2 separate regions of the Homo sapiens genome follow, and region 1 is linked to region 2. Evidence: promoter capture Hi-C in 16 types of primary human blood cells and fetal thymus (Javierre and others, 2016). All regions are on one chromosome and are shown on one strand. Each heading gives the region's core, a stretch centred on a gene start or on the middle of the fragment in contact. The rest is flanking DNA. Distances are from core to core; before and after follow the strand shown.

Region 1 (7,106 bases), core at 576-3,075, 7.4 Mb before region 2:
AGTGCAATAATCATTAGACACCACTGTTTAGACCCTGAGTATGTTCATGACATTTGCCTTTTGACTGCTAAGTAGAAGATGTAATGATTATAGGCTGATGCTTTCTCAGGAGGAGGAAAGTTATTGAGCTTTACAGTTTCAAATGCTTCTGATTTTCTTCCACGTTTAGTCTGGCTGCTGACACATGTGTTGAAATCTCTCATGTCGATCAGCTTGAGAATAGCTGGGACTGCTGAGCTAAGTCTGTGCTCATAAAAGCAACAAAGAATTGTATTACAGGAAATGACCCCAAATTGACAGAAGATTAGGCTAGGAAGCCTGAACAGGTGTTTTAATCTCTATGCACAAAATCAGTCTGTACATATATTGCTCACATTCCTGCTGTTTTAACTATATTTTTTTTTTCAATTTCACTTTGTTATTCACAATTTGATAATATTTTATGTGGCCATGGTGTCTGTGTGATGAACTATAATCCAATGTGACATTCTCTGAGAGTCAAGCTTCCAAGGACATCAGATTTTCACACCAGGACACTTTGTAGGACACCTTGCTACTCTCCATGGGATTCAAATATTAGAAATAATGAGAGATCTAAGACTTGATGTAATTGCCTGCATGTAATGAATCAGGCCAAATAAAAAAGTGAGAGACAGAGAAAGGAAATGGTGCTAAGGAAAATGGGGACCTATCTTAGTGTTTGTCTGAGAGAAAACTGCTCTTTGTTTTTCCCGATGTAATGGCAAGAGTCTGCAGCCAGGAATCTAGTCCTTGCTTAGGAGCTGCATGACCTTGTGAAAATTACGTAGGTGTTCTGCAATTTGTAATTGCATTTATTGTAAAATTAATTTTACTTTTCATACGTCACTAGACAGAGCATTTTGAGGTTAGGAATTGGGTCTGAATCAATGATTTCTCCAGCACCCACATGGCATTTGGCACAGAATACATCAATAATGATTTTGGATTAAACAGGGGAACAAGCACAAGGAACCATGGTGGTCAGAAACGGGTTGATCTGCACCAGAGAAAGGGAGACTAGGGGAGAAAGGTCACTCTAGATTTCGTTCAATTATTGAAAATACGGTGTATTTACTATGTGCTGGGCACTTTTCTAGGTGCTAGAAAGACTACAGTGACCAAAACAAAAATCCACATCTGCAGGGATCTTGCATTCTAGTGAGAAAGTAAGATGGTAAAAAAGATAAATACGTAAATTTTATACAATGCTTCGTAACGACAAATGCTAAGGAGAAAAACAGCACAGAAAAGACAGAAAGGAAAAGAGAAGGGGCGCATGTGGTGCAATTTTGTTAGGATGCCAGGGAGGGCTGAGCGTAGTCGTAAATGACCACATTATTTGATGGATCAAGCCAGGGACTGCAAGTCTGTGTTTCTGAGAGACACATAAAGAAAAGAAGGCTTAAGGAATCCAGAAAGATCCAGAGTGGGGAAATGAAACGAAAAGAAATCCAGCCAGTGGGAAGTCGTGAAGGGATAGTTAAACGCGTTTTGGGAGGAAAGAAAAAAGCAAAAGTGCGGTACAGCCTTTCGTTACACGTGAAAAGAATCATGTTTCTTTTTCTAGTTAGAAAAAGCCAAAGATTGTGCGATTTATGCCCCAAACCCCCTTGTAAGGGGATTCTCACCTCAACTTGTCTTCTGTGGTCAGTGTTTCCCGCCCCTGAATCAGGGTTACTGTCACTATGGCTTTCAATTGGCCCGGCGTAGGCGCATGCTCTGCGCGTATTGGCCTCCGCTCCTGTCCCCAGACAAGCGGCCATCTTGGGTCCCGCCCCTACCGTGGGGTCTTCTGGGAATTGCAGTCCCCGCTCTGCTCTGTCCGGTCACAGGACTTTTTGCCCTCTGTTCCCGGGTCCCTCAGGCGGCCACCCAGTGGGCACACTCCCAGGCGGCGCTCCGGCCCCGCGCTCCCTCCCTCTGCCTTTCATTCCCAGCTGTCAACATCCTGGAAGGTAGGGGCGGGGAGGCAAGCCCAAGTGGAATACTGTTTCTGGGGCGCGGGTCTGGGTTTCCACGCGCGTCAGGTCATCACCCCGGAGCCCAGTGGGGCCGGCGCCGCTCACGGGGCGGTGGGCTTCTGTCCCGAGTACTCTTCCGCCCCACGAGGGTCTCAGGGTGGGGACTCGGGCCCCCCAATTCCCAAGCACCGACCCTAGCCCTAACCCGTTCCTCCTCCACCGTGTTTATACATTGGGGAAACTGAGGCACGGGGCCACGCCAGCGGGTCCGGGGACGCCACAGCTCTTGGCTCTGGGGGTGTAGTCGGCACCCGCCGTTTTGGGATGGTTCGTCAGTTTCATAGACAAGTAGCGAAAATCCGTCCCAACAGGTCTGTGTTAAACACGCAGCTCTGGATTCCCCTAAGGGGTTGCTGAACACGTGCCCAGGACAGGAGCAAACCGGAGTATAGAGAAGGCAGCATTTTGGGAGATAATTTTACATTACTACTTCAAAAACAGGCAAAGAGGCATCGAATTTATTGTTGTGGGAGAACTCATCGGTACTTGGTCGGACTTTCTTACACTTATTTTATGGTTGTTGTTTTTATTTTTAGCGTCAAAGGGGGGAATTTTAAAGGTATATCCAAGTTGGTGGTGGTGGGGGGTAAGGAGGCAGGTTAGTGGAACTTGAGATGCATCTGCAGATTTCTCTGTAGGCTCACATTCTGCCCTCGCTGTGTTACCTTGGAACAGCCACTCACAGCGCTTATCTGGGAAACAAGGAGCTCAATGCTCCCAGGTCAAGTGGCCAAAGGATGTTGCCTGAAGCCGAAATCTAAATTGAGGTTATGCTTGTGAAAGTTTACCACTTGCAGATTTACTGCTATTATTATTCTGGTCTCTCAGAAATGTGCTGGGACCAATAGAAAATACTCACAGTGGTTGTTTTAGTAAGGTTCTGACCTGGGCCGGGCCCAGACTACCAAGGGTGGTCCCTACTCGCACCTGATGTTAAGCCGGATCTACCTGAACTCTCCCTCCTTGGCTTCAGCCTGCGGCCTGAGGCCTTGGCCGCGGAGGCTTCTGGGAGTTGCAGTCCCGCCTCTTGTTTCTCGTCGGGCAGGTACTCCACCTCGTGGCGTGCCATTTTGCACGGCGAGATGTCTCCTGGGAGACGAAGTCTCGCTTCTAGCCGTTCTGTAGAGCAGCCGCTTGACTCGGAACTACAACTCCCATGTGGACCTGCGTTCATGGCTGCCGGCCTGTGTCCACCTGCTGCAACCTGGACTAGAAATATTTAGTAAAGAAAGAAGTCTAGGGTTTGTGTGTGTGTGTGTGTGTGTGTGTGTGTGTGTGTGTGTGTGTGTGTGTGTGTGTGTTGTTATTGATTGCATATGCTGTTCTAAGTGTTAGATATGGGATTGTTGTATACGGTGTTCCAAGTATTAACGTACATGCTTCCAAAACCACTAACACTTGACCATTTAGAACCTGTTCACATGATCTCTTTTTAATACTACATTTCCCATTTGTATATGAGAAAAAACTTGAGAAGATAGCCCATGATTACACAGCTAGCAATATAATATATATTCAATAAAATATATGTGTTATAATTTAATCCTCTTAAAAGCTATATGAGAGTGAGAACCATTTTTATATCAACTTTACAGATTAGAAAACTAAGGCTAGGAAAGTTAAGTAACTTGTTCAAGTTAAAACACTGGTGAATAAAAGGACTGAGACTGTAAGCCCTTCTGCTTAACAGTCTCTGCTTAGAGAAAGACCTTACCTTACAGAGCTGAGGAGGAGTCCAACCTTTCTGGCTACAGAATTTGGAATCTTTTAATTATACCATGCTGCCTCTGTACTTAGATACTAAACATTTGAGCTGCAAAAACCTTTGAGATCATTTAATTCTAATGCAAAGATCTTGGAACACTTCTTGGCCTATAATAAAGATTCCATATATATATGTATATAGTTTTAGAATACCTTTATTTTAGAGATTAGGAAACTGGCCCAGGTGGTAAAGCAGTTTGCCCAAGGTCACACAGTTGGTTTGTGTCAGAGATTAGACTAGAACCAAGCATCTTATTTTCAAGTCCAGGGTTATTTTCATTCCACCAGCAGTCAGCTAGCAGGAACACCAGATGTGTAGCTCTTTAGATAATGGTTTCTCCTCTAATTTGCTCTTTCAAGGCCACAGACCAGGACCAATTGTTATAAATTATCTTATTTATTATTGGTAAGGTTGTAATACTTCATGAATTCAACAAATGTTTTTTGAGCTTCTTTATATGGTCATCTCTCTTAAGGTGCAAGGACCACATAGATGATAAGGACTTAATGCATTCAGACTGGAAGGACCTTATAAATAATCTAATCTAACTCTTATTTTATAAATGAGGAGAGTGTGTTACGAAGTAGTCTGCAATCTTCATCTCATGCCCTCATGTCAAAAGTATCCCGTTTCTGCAAGAAGGCAGGTTTCTGGAGTCCTCACAGTAGTGTGGATAACCTTTTTAGGCTTATGCTTTTCTATTTGGTATCCTTGTCTTGGCCTTTTTCCTGCAGCCTTTGATAGAATGCTTTAGGAAATGTTTTTGTGTCCCCATCTTTATTTGTGTGTTTATGCAACTTCAACATGCTCTGTTTCTATTTTGGAAGTTAGTCTGGTTTTGGCTCCCATTACTCTTTTCTCTTTTGTTCTTTCAGACACTTGAGAACAAATTCTGACACTATGTTTGCATTCACATGTTAAAATCTGACCCTCTAATATGAACTCTCAGAAATCTATCAAGTTGTGACTTTCATTTTGGAAGACATATTGGCCCTTTCAATTATGTATTCACAGATAATAAGGCAGGTAACTCTGGTCTCTTCTGAAAGATGATTTCCATATAGTTAGGTAATAAAGTAACAGTTTTATGAATTATTGGCTAAACATTCCTGAAACAGTCTATTTGAGAAGTTCTCCTCATCACCCCCATGCCCCCACCCCCACGCTCTCCCAACTGATAGTCTGATCATTCAGCTTCCACCACAGTGCCTGACCACCAGTAGACACTGAAAAAGTACTTGTGGCATTGCATTCATAAGCACCCTGTTCCCACATCTCTTCATTGAATCTGTTTACTCTTTTAATGCAGAAGTGCAGCTTTGAAATATAAGATGTAGGAGGTTACTTTGCTTTCAACATGTACATTGCAGAGAAAAATCTCAGCCTTTGAGATCATTCTCCAAGGGGTTGTCTCTTTGGGAATGTCCATATCTGTGACTTCTCAGATGAGAAAGTGATCTATATAGTAAGACATAGCAGAGAAGCAGTAGAGGGGTTGTCTGGGGACCCATGATTTAATTCCCAGCTGTGCCTTTTAGACAGGTTACTTAGCCCTTGGTTTTCTCTCTTAAAATAGGGATAATAAGCATTTCTACCTCACAGTGATGATGAAGAAGAAAGTGTGTTTAAAGCTTTGAGCATGTTGTCAGGCTCTTAACAGCTTGCAGTCAATAGATAAATATAATAGCTCTTATTTTTGTTATTGTAAGCCTGATATATGAAAATTCACATTTCCTCAAGATTTAAAACTTTAAGCAGGTATTTATATTATAAAAGGATTTGTTTGCCACTTGTTTTCTTAGAGTAGCACACTTGGTCATCACATTTAAAATATGAAGTTCCTCACAACTCTTGATAACCTGTCTTGTCAGCACAGTGACACTCTCTTGTGTGGGCAGAGAGACAGTGAAGCTTTTGGCTCGGTACTGCCTGCTGAGAGGCCCCTGATCTATGGTTCCACCTATATATTAAATCCTTGATTTAAAAGCAGCCTGTTTCTGTCAGTGGGGCCTTCTGTCCATCTCTAGAAAGGATTGGTCCTATCCCAGGAGGCTCAGGGTTAGAGTGAGGCAGTTGTCATCCAGCTGGTGAGTAATCCTGGGGCAATGACCGTGGGGATGTGGCAGTGCTTCTTTCTAAAGCTGACAACTTCAATAGCCATGAGGTTACGATAAGGAGGTGAGTTACTGAAAAGAAGTGATGCAGGGAACAGGGAAGGAGCAACAGGAATGAGGATCACAGCAACAGCAGAGGAGAAGGACAAAGGAAACAGCGGAGGCCCTCAGTATCCTAAACATATTTTTATTCAGCACATTTATCTTGCTCCTAGCTCTGTTCCAGGCACTGCATCTGCTCTGGTGAGAGCAGTAAATGGGGCTGGTAGGGAGGCACTGATGGGGTGAGTGAGGGTATATTCTCGGCAGGGAAGAACCTAGTACAATGGAGGACAGGAGGGAGGGAGGGAGGGGATGTTGGGATTTGATGAGCAGAAAGAAGGTCTGTGTGCTTAGGGTATGAAAATCAATGGCTGGAGGAGGTGGAGAGAATAAGGCTGCAGAGGTGAGCCTGAGTAATAGATATGTTTTTCTTTTTTTAAATTTTTTTAAAATTTTACTTTAAGTTCTGGGATACATGTACAGAATGTACAGGTTTGTTAATAGGTATACATGTGCCGTGGTGGTTTGCTGCACCTGTCAATCTGTCATCTAGGTTTTAAGCCCTGCATGCATTAGGTATTTGTCCTAATGCTCTCCCTCCCCTTCCCCCTCTACCCCACAACAGGCCCCGGTGTGTGATGTTCCCCTCCCTGTGTCCATGCGTTCTCATTGTTCAACTCCCACTTATGAGTGAGAACGTGTGGTGTTTGCTTTTCTGTTCCTGTGTTAGTTTGCTGAGAATGGTGAGCCTGAGTAATACTATGCAGAGTCCGGTTACCTGCATTTCGACCTTATTCCGAGGGCATTTGGGAAATTGTTTAATGGCCTTAAATGGGGAAATGAAATTGTTGGATTTGTTTTCATAAAAGTATGGATGTATAGCTATGTATTGTATTATTGAAGATTACTTAGAGTGTAGACTTTAAGTGTTCTTGTTCCCAGAAAGGGGTCTTGATCCAGACCCCAAGAGAGGGTTCTTGGGTCTTATGCAAGAAAGAATTCAGGGCAAGTCCACAGAGTAAAGTGAAAGCAAGTTTATTAAGAAAGTAAAGGAATAAAAGGATGGCTACTCCATAGACGGAGCAGTCCTGAGGGTGGCTGGTTTCTCATTTTTATGGTTATTTCTTGATGATATGCTAAACA
Region 2 (6,715 bases), core at 3,501-6,000:
TATCACTAAGCCAGGGAATCAACACTGAGAATCCTGGGTTACAGGAGAAGAAAGGAGACTTGCTCTTCATGGGATATCCCTTTGCATCTTTTGATTTTAATATTATGTACAGGTACCACATTCAAACAAAGGAAGATTCAAGAATCATCAATAATATGCACCAAACCAGTTAGTGAATAAGAATAATAAATTACACATTCCTTAATGTCACATGGCACATATCTATACTCTATTTTTTCAAAATCTAAAGGCTGATGTTATCTTGAGATCTATAATAATAAAATGCACATACTGTTATACTTTGTATACTCCATATTTAGGAATCTAAAGATAGGGCTTAGAAAGTAACACATATTTTGGTACTATGGAATACAATTCTAAAAATATTAAAAATTTGCTTTTAGTGATCAGTCAATGCCCCTAGAAGGCAACTAACACCTAAATCTCTGATGGTTTAACTTTAAAATTCTGGACCAGTATTCCATTCCATCTACCACTATAATGGTTTACATTACAGTTACCAGGGTTGCCAAAAATGGATTATGAGTTAAAAAGTAAGAAATTATCATTGGAATAGTATTTTTCATCCTGTAATAGAACCACAGGTTGAGTCTAGATATTCCTTATTCATTTAAAAATAGGCTATGTGTGTGTGTGTGTGTGTGTGTGTGTGTGTGTGTGTGTGTGTGTACATATACATATATATATATATAATCATACAGGCTCACTAGTGAAACTGATAATGTAATTAACTCAGTGAAATACTTTAGAGACTACAGAGGAAATTTTTAAACTTTTAAGCCAATCAAATTCTCCAAGGATGACTGCAATGTGAATTTTTATAAACATTTTCTCATTTTGATACAGAAAATAAGTTCAGGTAGTTTAAGAAAGTGACTTGTAGAGTTGTACAACCATCACTTCAGCTGAAGTGATGAGGTGATTACTGGTTCAAAAATTGCTGATTTGCACAGCAGGTCCAGTCTGGCTACACAGTTTTACAAAAATTGAAAATTAAAAAGAAAAAGTTGCTGTGAATAGCAACAATAAAGAGTATAAGGTAGAAAAATGAGGCAATTAAAGAGTTAAGGATTCTGAGTCCAGATGAAATAAAGAATGCAAAGGCAATAACTCTAAGAACAAACACATAAAAGGTCAATAAAGAATATAAATGCCATCTGTTTTCATGTTTCCTAACAGTAATATTGAGGACATCTTATTGTTTCTATGTAACCCAGTGTTCCTTCATTATCTCGTGGTAACCACCACCCCTCTCCAACTCTCAAGCCCTCTAGCTTAAGTGGGATTGAGTCAAGCTCCAGCTCCAGAGGTAGCTGTCATTCAGAATGGCCCATCCCACTGGCCAAGGGTTTAGTGCAGAGATATGAAGGTCATCCACTTAGAGATGCTCAGGGAATTTTGCTGGGGAATCTAGAAAAGAAAAACTGGGCAGCTATTTTGCAACTTTGAGAAAGCTGAGATACAGTCAAACAGTCTCCAGAAATCACCTCTCATTCTATACTACAAATACCGTGGTGGATTGTACACTATTTCAATACTTCTGTTATGTGTGGAGATGCAGCATAGCACAGGGGTTAAGAGCACAAACTATAGAGCCTGGCTCTTGATCTTAACCTCAATTCTGCTTCTTATTAACTGTGTGATCTTGGGCAAGACACTTGAGCTCTCTCTCAGTTTCCTCATCTGTAAAATGGGAATAACAGAACTCAGTAGGGTTGAAGTTTAAATGAATGAATACATGAAAAGCAATCAGAACGTTCCCTGGCACAGGGTAAGCACTATACAAATGTTAGCTATTATTATCGTCGTTGTTATGAGGATTAAATGAATAAATGGAAAGTGTTTAGAACAGTGCCTGACACATAGTAACCCTGTATACATATTATCCATTATTAAAACTACCAATTCTTTCATTCACTCAACAAGTATTTATTGAATACCTCTTCTTTGCCAGGCCAATGTCTTCATTCTAGACAAGCAGTATCCAACAGAAATGTAATGTAAACCATGTATGTGAGCCAAGTATGTAATTTTAAATTTTCTAGTAGTCACATAAAAATAAATGAAATTAACAAATAAAATTACTTTTAGTAACATATGTTCTTTAATCTCCAAAATATCATTTCAACATATCAATATTAAAAACAAGATATTTTACAGTCTTCATTTCATTCTAAATCTTTGTGATCTGGTATTTTGTACAGTACATTTCAATTCAGACTAGCCACATTTCAAATATTCAACAGCTACATGTGGCTAGTGGCTAATGCTTAGTTTCAGACATTAAAGGTTAGGGAAAGAGGGGAAATGCTATCTTTGTCCTCTACCACTAACTATATAATTGTAACTAACTATAATTGTAACTAACTATATAATTTTTTTCAATTTTCAAAGTCCTTTCACCTTTGTTATTCGAGAGGAACATGCCTTGCCTTGAAGGATTGATTAGATTTTAGCAGGTGGAGAAAGTTCCTTTCAAGAGGAAACACATGAGCAGAGGCAACAAGGCAGGAAAACAAAGGGTCTACTAGGGAAGTAGAAATCAGAGAGCAAAATCTAAGATGTATCAGGAAAGCCCTTAATGCCAGACCAGGGAGGCTGAATTATGTTTGTCAGGTGGTGGGAAGAAACGGAAGGTCTGTGAATGGGAGAGGCAAGATTGGATTAAACTAACAGGTGAAGATAGCATGAAATGGAGTACGGAGAAACTAGAGGTAGCTCATTAGGAAATCACTGCATTAAATCTCAGGCAAAAATGATCTAGATAAAGGAATGGAAAGGAAGAGATAGCCTCACAATGTCCGATACTCAGGAGATCCCAATGTTAGTTTCTTTCCTCTTTTGGCAATTGGAGAGATTTTAAGCAATTGTCAAAAAATTGTCTAAAAAAATCTCATTCAACCAACCAACAAATATCTGAGCACCTACTACTTGCCAAGAACTATGACAGACCTTGAAGATATAAAAGACAATAAGGCAGACAGGATTCCTGACCTCTTACGTCTTATATTTTCTTGAAGACAAGAGACAAATCAATTATCAGACAGTTTCACAATGTGAATTACTATGAAGAAAATAAACACGGAGATGAGTGGCCAGGGAAGGGCACCCAGAAGTGGTGACAACTAAGCAGAGGGCTAAAGGATAAAATGAGCTGGATGTGCAAGGAGTCCGAGGAAGAGGGTTCCAGGTAGAGGGACAAGTATGGGCAGAGTCCTGGAGGTATCAGTAAAACCCGGGGTGTTCACAAACTAAAACAACAATGTTGCCAGAGCATAATCTGGGTGGGGGTGTTCATAAACTAAAACAACAATGTTGCCAGAGCATAATCTGGGTGGGGAGATGTGGCTGGAAGTACAGTGAGAGGAGCAATCAAGAGGACAAGTCACCTTGGGCCTGCAGGCCATGACAAGGAACTGGATTTTAAGAGCAATAGGAAGTCACTAAATTTTAGTGTCCAAAAGGTTTTAGGCAAGGGAACGAGATGATCTCCGTTTTAAGATCGATCTTGCTACAGTTTGTAAAACTGCCTAAGGATGGTAAAAGACTGAACCTGAGATTTCATTTAGAAGGAAACTAGCGTAGAGCAGGTGAGAGATGATGGTGGCATGGTCTAGATTAAGAAAGGCCCTTGGGAAAATTAACGGCCCTGCCCTAATATTTTTGCAGAAATGATCCTTTATGATTGTGCTGCACAAATCCCAAATGAGGTGAAGGATGTTGTCTTGTCCTATTATGAACTTTTCTGGGGAAAATGCTCTCTCCAAAATCAACATAAAATTAGATCTTTGTCAGTTCTAAGTATTAGAACATAAAATCTTAACCAAAGTTGTTAAACTCAAAATAGATTTTCAGCATGTAATTTTCATTTTCTGGAAGGTGATTAGGAATCTTTCCAAAGAGATGACACATGGCTTGAGAACTGGGGGCGGGAAGTCAAAGGAAGCAGCCATTAGGTCTCCACGCTGAAAGAATAGCTAAGTGCAGAGGCCTTGAGAAGGGAATGAAATGGCCACGTTCAAGGAACAGAGGCAGCCCACTGGCTGTAGCAGAGTAAATATCCATGGTATGTGGTCCACATTTACTGAATGTCCAAGACATGTCTTCTAATTCGTCTGTCACCAAAGTGGTCATAAGCAGTCGCCATCAATAAGAAACAAGCAGAGAAAGGGCCTACAGTTCAATTTATTTTTCAGTTGCCTCACAAAAGGCTAAGAAAAACTTAGTTTCTGGTGAACCCAGGTAGACATGCTCATTTTAAAGAGAATGAATATATCTAGGAAGAGCCTGGCAGTATATTCCCAAAGGCGTGACAATAAAGTTCCTTAACGTGTAGTCAGCACCCTCAAACGTCAACACGTCTGGAAAATTCGGAAGCGTTTCCTCCTGTCAGCGGCCCTTCAAGCTACCTCATACAGGGCAGCCTCTCCTACCCAGACCCGGAGCCTATCAATCGACGAGAAAACAGCTTCCCCTCACTGGGCGGTGCGAACCAACTCTGCACGATCAAGTCGGATAGAGGACTGGCAACCGCGGGCACTACAGGGCAGTCCTTAACGTCATATCCGGTTGTCAGCTCGGCCGCCTCCGCCTAACCAGAAGTCGCAGATGTGACGATGCAAAAACGCCCGTCGGGGGCGCGTCTCTTTCAGCAGCCAATGGGCTCTGCCCACCTTCGTCCTCGTCAGCATTTTGTCTAATCGCGGCCTGTGACGCTCGAAGGGCGGGGAGCAGAGGGAGATACAGAAACCGACAGGGGCCAGGCGCCCGGTGGCTCCGAAGCGGGGAAGTGGGACAAGATGGTTTACATCTCGAACGGTAAGTTGAGAGCGGGCTGTGGCTTCGACCGGTGACTTGTAAGATCGGACTCCAGGTTCCTTTCATCGTCGCTCGCTGAGTCTTGAGCCCGGTGCGGCTTCCCCGGGCTTAGCGCCCCGCGGCCGGGCGGAGCTGGACCGAAGTCGCCTCGGCTTGCGGCGCGTCAGCCGATGGTCTCTGAGCCGGCAGTCGGGGGCCGAGGTCCCGCCGGCCTCACGTTGAGTACTGGGAGCCCTGCAACCCCGCCTTCGTGCAGCAAGCGCTTGATTGTGGATTTGCGAGGGTGGTCTTTCCTCTCTCGGGTGTCGGTATCCTTAAAACTAGTAAGGACAATGATGCCGACGCTGTACACGTAGCGCTTGTGCCCTGGACAGTGTTTCAGTTATTTGCTTATCGTCACATTCAATCCTGTTTTACGGGTGGAAACTCTGAGGCTCAGATAGATTAAATAGCTTGCCTGGGCTATTTAAGTCACAGAGGTAACTTAATGGCTGAGTCGGGATTCGATCACAGGTAGGCTGACGTCAGCGTCCTTGTTATCTGTTATGCTGCCTCTGTCTACAACGTGTAAAAAGACCGAGCCGACCTAGGATGATAATTAGATGAAAGCTTTGCATAGGCTTTTTCCCCAGGAAAGGGTAGCTAGTCAAACATGGAATTTTTTGCTCGAATTTCAAGGGGCATGGGAAGAAGTACTATCTTCCCCTAGGAGCAAGTTAATTATTACCGGAATGGAGAATCCGAGAGACTTAATTCTGCGAACCCACAAAGAAGATGACCGGAAAGGAAGGACATGACTGTGTCAGATCAGTGCTAGAGCTGCCTGCCCACCTGTTTGACTCAGGTGAAATTCTTTGGTACAGTCTTAACAAGGAGTTGTGGATCATTGGAACTAGGTCTTGGTTCTATTTGAGTCATCTGTTTTTCTCCAGAGACGAGTAAGGTAGTCAGTGAGGAGCCTTCTGGCTGACTGCACTTTTGCATTTCTTGACTTTTAAAAATCTCCCCTTCTCATCTCCCACTTAAAAATCTTTGAAACAAGTAGATTGATGGACACTACAGAAAAGCATCAAAATTTCATCTTAGTTTTGGGCGCTTTCAGACTTTAGTCTGTTTTATAGCCTGTTTTATAGCCTTTGTGATATAAGCTTAAGGCTGGAAGCTTCTGTATGAATTATTGAATAATTCCTTGTATTTGTTGTGTCTTACTGTGTTCGCATTATTTCATTTGGTCCACATAAGTAGCCGATTAGGACTCTTTATCGTACTTTAAAAGTTGAGAAACACAACTGCATTCAAACACCTTACTTCTCTCTGGGGATATTGGTGGAAGGGACATTCTGCCTTAAGAAAGGGAAAGTGGAAAAGCAAGATAGAATCACAGAGGAAGAAATGACAGGTTCCAATTAGATCCACCTTCTTAGGACTGTATTATCAGCACTTGACAAAATCTTTCTCTTGCTGTCAGATGACTTTTTTTTTTCCAAAAATCTTATGTGATGGCTAGCCCTGGAATACTTTTTGTTGGAGAAAGAAAATGTCACATCAGCCAACGAAGCAGAGCTAGTAAGAGGCAGAGAACTAAGCCTGTCACCCACCCTCTAAACTTTTGTAGCCCCTTGCTCTCAGTAGCACAGTGAGAGCTTAGATCCAAGTGGGTATCTGAAATTAAGCTGGTCAAGAAAAGAGGAAAAGTAAACCCTCATGGAGTGGGTAGAGGTGAGTGGGGTTAACTCTTGGGATAATGGAAAGGAGAGGTAGTTGACAGTTACTCTTCCCCGAAAATATTCTGACATCTTGATTTGCAAGGCTGAAATATAGTGTACCAACTTATGTTGTAGCTTCTATTAAAGTGGTTTGAAAAATAGATCCAGTT

The links. Contacts are between HindIII fragments. The CHiCAGO score rates a contact against its expected background, and 5 or more counts as called.
Region 1: a contact is called between the fragment with the promoter of FHIT here and the fragment with the promoter of SELENOK in region 2, in 2 of 17 cell types (non-activated CD4 T cells and total B cells). The highest score is 6.4, in non-activated CD4 T cells.

What each region holds. Positions count from the first base shown.
Region 1 is chr3:61,246,171-61,253,276 of GRCh38, reverse strand. FHIT (fragile histidine triad diadenosine triphosphatase) reads left to right here and starts at 1,825. Exons shown (of 10, transcript NM_002012.4): 1 at 1,825-1,976. LOC124909387 (a long non-coding RNA gene) reads right to left here and starts at 1,685. Exons shown (of 2, transcript XR_007095939.1): 1 at 1,650-1,685. RefSeq lists enhancers at 1,728-2,022, 2,087-2,146, 2,277-2,406, 2,547-2,676, 2,957-3,236. The HindIII fragment of the contact is 4,935 bases long and covers 506-5,440 here.
Region 2 is chr3:53,889,894-53,896,608 of GRCh38, reverse strand. SELENOK (selenoprotein K) reads left to right here and starts at 4,750. Exons shown (of 5, transcript NM_021237.5): 1 at 4,750-4,839. The coding sequence starts at 4,821. RefSeq lists enhancers at 4,472-4,771, 4,662-5,562. The HindIII fragment of the contact is 7,183 bases long and covers 1-5,450 here.